2 separate regions of the Homo sapiens genome follow, and region 2 is linked to region 1. Evidence: promoter capture Hi-C in human tissues and cell types (Jung and others, 2019). All regions are on one chromosome and are shown on one strand. The core of a region is centred on a gene start or on the middle of the fragment in contact, and the rest is flanking DNA. Distances in the headings are between cores, read along the strand shown.

The links. Contacts are between HindIII fragments. The study calls those that stand out against the background at their distance.
Region 2: a fragment that was not itself captured here is called in contact with the fragment with the promoter of CRB2 in region 1 in 3 of the 25 tissues and cell types used here (aorta, mesendoderm cells and thymus).

What each region holds. Positions count from the first base shown.
Region 1 is chr9:123,353,732-123,357,962 of GRCh38, forward strand. CRB2 (crumbs cell polarity complex component 2) reads left to right here and starts at 2,466. Exons shown (of 13, transcript NM_173689.7): 1 at 2,466-2,623. The coding sequence starts at 2,530. RefSeq lists silencers at 287-396, 417-466 and enhancers at 429-928, 597-766, 4,147-4,231. The HindIII fragment of the contact is 16,000 bases long and covers 1-4,231 here.
Region 2 is chr9:123,192,853-123,197,083 of GRCh38, forward strand. All of the region lies in intron 2 of STRBP (spermatid perinuclear RNA binding protein), which reads right to left. Among named protein-coding and RNA genes, the nearest start is that of STRBP, 74 kb to the right of the region's middle. The HindIII fragment of the contact is 5,762 bases long and covers 1-4,231 here.

The DNA.
Region 1 (4,231 bases), core at 1,216-3,715:
CTCAGCCAGGGAGGTGGCAGCAAGTCATGCTCAGGCTAGTGGAGGGGCAGTTAGTAACCTGCAGTCGGAGGTTCACCAGTGGAAAGGCTGGAGTCGGGCAGACCCAACTCGAATCCTGCCAGGCACTGGTGCTGGGCTGCTCACCTCTCTGTGCCTCGGTTTCCTCATCCATAGAATGGGGCCAATGCTGACTTTGCAGTGCTGCTGGTGGGTGGGGGGGGGGTAAACTGAGGTTATGTCGATTCCCTTCCCAGGTGGGGAGGACAGGGGAAGTGGATGCACCTGGGGGACCATCTCAGAGGAGCTGGCCCACTCTTACTGCCTTCTCCAGATCCGGACCAGGGAGCGGTCAAGATGGTGTGCCCTTGTCTGACCTCCGTCCTGCCTGCTGTCCAGCGACTCCCTGGCTTCCTCCCCGTCACGTGGGACTCCTGTACCCGGTGCTGTCGGGGGAGCCCCCCTCCATACCCTCCAGACCTCACAAGACACTTCCAGGTCTGGCCACAAGGTGGAGTGTGGCGGCTGCAGGACAGTGCTGGGGGCCGGGCTGCAGAGGAGACTGGACCTGCGCCGGGTGACCTCCCCGCTCTGTGAAAGTGTGGGAGTTTGTGTCTGTGCATCCAGAGAACCAGAGGGTGGTGGTTGACTTGCCGTGCTCCCCCCAGCCCCCCATTGGGATTGCCTGGGTCTCTGGGGGATCACTGAGAAGCTGGATAAAGAGAGCTGGCACTGTCGCCTTGGCTCACTAACGCCACCATTTTACAGGTGAGGAGACTGAGGCCCAGAGAAGGAAGTCACGTGCTGAGGTCACCGGCTAATCAGTGGCTGAGCTGGGCTCGAACCCAGATCTCTTACGCTGTGAGGCCTCTGCTTTTCCTGTGGCATGGAGAGGGGCTTCTCCCACCTGGGGAGAGGGATCCTGTTGTATTGGAGAGGCAGGGGATTAAAGATGGACTGAGAGAGGTTAGTGTCCCAGAAACCAAGGGGCAATCCCTGCCCTGGAGAGAACAGGCCTCAAGGGCAGGGATGGGGCAGGGGCAGTGGATAAGGAGTCTACCCAGGCCTTTTTGGGTTCCCTCCTTTGGTCCCTGGGGACCCAGGGCTGTGGCACTTGCCCCGGGCTAGAGGGTCGGCCAGGGCCTGTGTGGTGCCCACTGCTCCCTCCCCTGCACTGCAGGGGACCCTTGCCCATCCCTCTAGCTCATCTGGACCTCCCTCAATGGCTCCTGCTGTCTTTCCAGGCTGTGTCCTCCCGTGTCAGGGACACATCCCAGAGCCCAGGGCCTGCGTGGGCTGTATCCACGGTTACTGAATAGGGACAAACAGGCATGTATTGGCAGGGGCCGGTGGCTCATTTCAGGAAAGTCCCTTCAGCAAGAGGATTCTCTCCCCACTGGGGCTGAGGGTGGTAGAAGAAAGGAATGTTGTTCTATGTTGTAGTGTCTCTGAGATGACCTGGCTTCCTGAACCAGGTCCCCCTGAAGAGCTCCTCCTGTCCACCCCAACAAGAGGCCAGCTGGAGAGCAAGCAAACATCGAGTGCAGCAGGAGACTATAAGGTTAGACAACAAGAAGGACTTCCTGGCAGGGGAGAGCAATGCTTGCTTGGTTAGAGCTGCCTTTCAGTAGAATGGGCTGCTTTGGATTGCAGTGAGGTCGCTGGAGTTGCAAACAGCAGAGCCAGAGATCAAGGTCAAGTGGAAGAAAGCTGGGAAAGGTTCAGTTTGGCTGGTGAAGGGTGGAGAGGGTAAAGGGAGGCAGGGACCACCGTGGTGCAGGGGTGAGGTGCCCTGCAGGGAGCTGATCCTGAGGCCGATGGTGGGAGGAGCTGTGTGTGGTCGGGTGGGACGGGGTGGGGACAGCAGGAGACACTGAGAAGGTGGCATGGCCAGGAGCTAGGGGCTGACCGAGTGTGGGGAGGGGGGAGTGGGGAGGGGGCGTTGGGCTGCCCGATGGGAGGTGCCTTGGCTCCGATGGGAGCACTGGGGAGCAGCAGGTGGGGGGACGAGCTGGGTGGGAGGGGCTGCAGCTTCCCAGCAGAGACAGGGTCTGGGAGGCGACTGGACTCGAAGGCCTGGGCTTGGGAGAGAGGCCCGGGCTGGAGAGGTGGGGAGGGGGATCCAGGAGAGGGGATAACTAAGGACTTGGGAGTAGCTGGCATCACCTGGTGAGACGAGAGTCCTGAACAGCCCCCTCTCCAAGGACAGAAATTTCTCCAAGGAGGCTGACCTGAGAGGTGGGAGGAGAGTGGGGCAGAGGGTCAGGAGGGAGAAACCAGTGGGTGCCAAGACCAGGTCAGCCCCACAGGCTAGGGGGCTTGAGGACTTGGGGCTGATGTCTAGGGACGTCCACGAGGTGGAGCAGCCCAGGAGGCCTGGGTGGGAGGAGGAGGCGGTGGCGGGGAGGGGAGGGAGGGGCTGGGCCTCTGTCCACAGCATTAGTGCTGGTTGGAGGGACGAGGGGGGTGCGGAGCCAGCCAGGCCGCCCTCCCGTTCTCACAGCAGCCGAGCAGAGCGCAGAGCGGGCTGCCATGGCGCTGGCCAGGCCTGGGACCCCGGACCCCCAGGCCCTGGCCTCTGTCCTGCTACTGCTGCTCTGGGCCCCTGCCCTTTCCCTCCTGGCTGGTGAGTTGGGGCCCATGTCTGGAGGGGCCTGGGAGAGGGTCTGTCCCCCAAGACAGATACCCCAAGCCTTGGCTGCTGGGGTGGTGGGTGGGCTGGTCCGCGTGGGTGCAGGCCTGAGCTGTGGGGTGCACAGGAGTGCGCGGCTGTGGCCCCCAGACTCTGTGGGGCTCCACGGAGGTGAGTGTGTTCTGAGGCTCGGGGCTGTTTCATGTTGAGGGGGGTTGTAAGTTTCGGGGTTGGGGGATCGGGGGCTGGGCATGATTTGGGGGAGCTGATGCGGGTGAGGGATGGGGTGCGTGTTTTGGGAGGTGCTGTGTTGCATCCTGTAAAGGGCTGGGGGACTTCTGGGTTTCTAGGGGCTGAGTTTGGGGAGTTGCAGGTGGCATAAGCCTCACCCCAGAGCTTGTTCTGTGTCGCATGCTGGGTTGTGGGGCACAGGTTGTGGGTGTGTTAGAGTTGGGAGGTGGATGAGCTGTCTGGGGTGAGCCGTGAGTTGTGTCCGAGGAGTTGGGTGTGGTGAGCTGTGTCCTAGCACACGCTGTGGGGTGTAGGTTGTCCAGGGTTGAACTAGGTCTTTGCTCTCAACATGAGGGGTGTGGGATGTGCACAGCCGACCCCAACTCGGGACTGAGTGGAGAAGCGTGAGGGAGACTCAGGGAGCTGGGTGCCTGCCCGCACCCCTCCATTTGTGCGGTAGCCCTGCCTGTGCTGAGGGCTGCTGGGGATGCTCTGGGTCCCTGTGGGGTGGCTGGGGATTTGGGAACATGTGTGTGTCCCCTGCTGCCCCCTCCCCAGCATTCCAAGGCCAATCTGAAAGGGCTCCCTGAAGCCAGACCACATTTGCCAAGCCCTTTTTGCTTTTGTCCAAGCTCTCGGAGCCTGGAATTCCTCCTGGGGGGTCCAAGGGAACGCTTGGTGTTAGTTACTATAGTTACAGGGGCCGGGCCTGGGAAGTCCCCTGCCCCCACCACCACAGGCTGGGGAGGGAGCCAAGGAGGGCCTGGGCTCTCCTGAGGCTGGGGGAGCCCTCCCTGCCCCAGAGCTCCACAGGCTGTAGGGTGTGGGGGCCAAGTGTCTCCCAGTCCCACCTGGGGACCCTCATGTTTCCCGCACTCACAAAGCTTTCATTTCCTATCCTCTCTATGGGGCCCTAGGGAGGATGAGGACCCCATTTTGCAGTGAAGGAAACCAAGGCTCAGAGAGGGACGGGGACTTATGAGCTGGGCTCTGCTGGCAGGCGACTTGGGCTCCATAGAGGGGTGGGGCATGGTGGCGGGGGGCGGGGTGGCTGCTCCTCTCTGTTCTCTGCATACAAAGCACGTGAGATCCCGGTCTGTGGATCGGTGCTCTGTCCCCTGCCCTGTGATGCTCACACACCCACACTCCGCACACCTGTGTGGCATGCCCAAGGGCACACAGCACCACAGGGACAGGTGCTACAGACACATGTGGATCTACCAGCACATGCACCTACCTACACACATGGCATGTGCCTGCACACCAATGTGCACACCCCAACACGCACATGTGGACATGTGTGCATTCACACTCAGTGTGCACTCACAGGGGACCTGGAGGCACAGAGTGGATGGAGGCTGTGGGGGGTCT
Region 2 (4,231 bases), core at 507-3,006, 160 kb before region 1:
ATTACCTAAGCAACTGGCACTAAACTCAAATATTCAGTGGCATCCAAGGTCCTATCGTCATTCTTGTCATTTCTCTCACCACCACAGCTCCAGTCAACACGGGAATAATGACTCTATGCCAGAACACCTTGCAATGTGCTACCGCTAAGCTTGAGTTAAACGATTCCCTTACCTGGACTGCAGCCACTACGCCATCATGATTTGTCATTGTTCTATTCATCAAATGCCCATCTCAAATCTACCCCTCCATGAAGCCTTACCTAATACTTCAGTTTATATAATTTCTTCCTCCTTTGAGCCATCCAGCACTTTTTCAGCTTCCTTTATATTTCTATTACTCAGTTTTAATGATATGATTTACTATTATCTCCACAGCACCTAGTACATCGCCCTGCACTCAGCAGAGGCTCAATAGAATTTGAATTCAACCCTAAATTTATCCTTCCTTAGAGTGCCATAACCACAGAATCTAAGGAGGTTCCATCCAAAAGGTCACCATCTCTTCCCATTATTTCCATGGCAGTCATCACCACAGTGACTAACAGGGAATTTCTGACTCGTCCTCCATAAGCACAAATTCCATTACTTATTTGACTTCTCCATCTTGGATTAATCCCCCAAACCCTATCCCATTCCTTCAGGACTTTAGTGCTGTACTTAGCTCAGTGACACACTCAACTTTACTTCTGGCATAAATATTAGAATTTTAATAACCGCAGAGATGACCCTTCTAAAATTCAGGCTTCTCCAGTCCTTGTATTCCTTTCCTCCAATGTTCTCATCTTCTTTCCTATTTTAGACAAACACGCCCCACCGGGACCTACAATCGCTAATGCTACCACTTTTCACAGTCCCTCATCCTTTTCATGCCCTCATTTCTGTCCTTATCCAACCGAAATTACGTGATCCATCATTTATCATTCATACCAGCAACTGCTTCTCTTTCCTTCTCCTAGCAAAACTCTAACCCTGTTAAATCCAAGCCTCTTGGCCACACCACATCATTAACCATGTACCATTAAATATAACTAAGAAAAAAAAGTATCACATAATCATGCTAATTAGTCTTTTTCATGACCATTAGCCTCAAAAGGCCCAATAATCAATAGTTCTAAAGGGATGTGAAAATGTGAAGTCAAGTTTTTTTAGTTGTAAGAATGACTAGGTAGGTAATCCTGGCATTTGGGACCCTGGAATGCAAAATATCCTGCCGTGTCCAAGATCTGTCCCACCTAAAATGCAAGTAGGAGCCTCAATGAAAAAGTTAAATGTTCATTCACTTCCTCACTCTCCTAATGATTTTCTCACACTTCTCTTGTCTCTTCAAACATCTATACTCTTACCTCTTCATATTCAACAGGTCACCCTGCTTCCTACTTCATGCAAATTGCCAACCTTGCTGCATCATTAACCATATATTCTTCCTTCCTGTTATTATAAATGAACTGTCCCCATTCCTATCTAATGCAAATTCCTGAACTCAAACTCTACTGGATCCCACCTCCTTTTGCCTACTTGGGATGTCACTCAGTAATCATCCCCTCTTCTCTCTTTCCTCTCCTGTATCATCCATTTTACCCATTCTACTGAGTCATTTCTATCAGCATTCCCACATGTTGTAATAGCACCCATCAATAAAAATAAAAAGGGAAAAAACATTAAAAACCATCCTTGACCTCTTGCTTTGCTACAGCTACTAGCCCAATTCTCTGCTCTCATTCTAGAGCATAACTGAGTTTACACTTTGGGTTTTTATTTCCTCTCCTTCCATTCTCTCTTAAAACCATCCCAATCAGCCTCTCATCCCAATGCTCCATCAAAACAGCTCTTGTCAAGGTCCCCTAGGATTTCCATGGTATTTAATGCTGTGAATAATTCTCAGTCCTCCTCTTAGTTGACTTCTCAGCAACAGTTGACACAGTTGACTGTTCCCTACACTTTACTCCCCTTGGCTTCCATCTAAGACACCACTCTCTTAGTTCTCCTCCTACTTTATAAATTACTCCCTTGTATCCTTTTCTTCTTTATCTCCACAACCTCTAAACGCTGAAGTGCCTCAAGACTCAGCCCTCAGACTTCATCTCTTCTCTATCTTACCTTCAACATTCCCTTGGCAATGTTATCTAGGTTTGAGACTTTAAATACCATCTATATACTGAGGATCTCCCAAATTCATATGGACCTGAGTTCCAAATTCACATTCAAATAAATAATCAACACATCCACTTGGATGTTTAATAAGCATCTTAAACCTAATGCATCAAAAACAAAAAACAAAACAAAACAAAACAAAAAACCACACAAGTTTGCTCCTCCTGGTCTTCCCTCCCTCAAGAGAAGGCAACTACTTCATCCCTTTAATTGTTCATGCCAAAAACTTGAAAGTCATCCCTGACTCCTTTCTTCCTCCCACATCTCACATCTGATCCATCATTAAATCCTGTTACCTATACCTTACAACACTATCTAAAATCTGACTATTGGGAAGTCCTAGCTAAAATAATCAGACAAGAGAATGAAATAAGGAGCATTCAAATTGGAAAGAAGCCAAATTATCCTTATTTGCAGATAATATGATCTCATATTTGCAAAAACCTGAAAACTGCACCAAAAAAACTATTAGAACTGACAAACAAATTCAGTAAAGTTGCAGGATACAAAATCAACATACAAAAATCAGTAGCATTTCTATATGCCAACAGCAAACACTCTGAAAGAAATCAAGAAAATAATCCCATTTATAATGGCTGTGAATAAAACTAAATACCTAGGACTAAACGTAGCCAAAGAAGTGAAAGATCTCTACAATGAAAACTATAAAGTGCTGATGGAAGAAATTGAAGAGGACACAAAAAAATTGAAAAGATATTCTATATTCATGGATTGGAAGCGTCAATATTGTTAAAATGTCCATACCATCCAAAGCAATCTACAGGTTCAATGCAATCTCTGCTAAAATACTAATGACAGTCTTCACAGAAATAGAAAAAAATAAAATCCTAAAATTTACACAGTACCACCAAAGACCCAGACTAGCCAAAACTATCGTGAGTAAAAAGAACAAAACTGGAGGAATTACATTATCTGACTTCAAATTATATGACAGAGCTGTTGTAACAAAAACAGCATAGTGCTGGCATAAAAACAGACACATGCTGATATAAAAACAGACACAAAGACCAATGGAACATAATAGAGAACCCAGAAGTAAATCCATACATCTCCAGTGGATATTCATTTGTGACAAAGGTTCAAAGAACATACACTATGGAAAGGACAGGGTCTTCAATAAATGGTGCTGGGAAAACTGGATATCCATATGCGAAAGAAGGAAATTAGACCCCTATCTTTCATCATATACAAAAATCAAATCAAAGTGGATTAAAGAATTAATCTAAGGCCTGAAACTATAAAACTACTAAAAGAAAACATTGAGAAACTATCCAGGACATTGGACTGGGCAATGCTGTATTGAGTAATGCCCCACAGCAAAGGCCACCAAGGCAAAAATGGACAAATGGTATCACATCAAGTTGAAAAGCTTCTGCAAAGCAAAGGAAACAATCAACAAAGTAAAGAGACAACCCAAAGAATGGAAGAAAATAGTTCCATTAGATGCAAACTATCCATCTGACAACAGATTAATAACCAAAATATACAGGGAGCTCAAACAACTCAATAGGAAAAAAAAATCTAATAACCCAATTAAAAAATGGACAAAAAATTTGAATAGGTACTTCTCAAAAGAAGGCATACTAATGGCAAACAGGTGTATGAAATGGTACTCAACATCACTGATCATCAGAGAAATGCAAATCAAAACTATAATGCGATATAATCTTATCCCAGTTAAAATGGCTTTTATCCAAAAAGCAGGCAATAACAAATGCTGGCAAAGATATATAGAAAAGGAAACCCTTGTATACTGTTGGTAGGAATGTAAATTAGTTCAACCAGTTTGGAGAACAGTTTGAAGGTTCCTCAAAAAACTAAACATGGAACTACTATATGATTCAGCAATCTCACGGCTAGGTATATACCCAAAAGAAAAGAAATCAGTACATCGAAAAGGTAACTGCACTCCCATGCTTATTGCAGCACTATTAACAATAGCCAAGATTTGGAAGCAACCTAAATGTCCGTGAAGAGACGAATGAATAAAGTAAATATGGTACATATACATAATGGAGTACTATTCTGCCATAAAAAAGAATGAGATCTTGTTACTTGC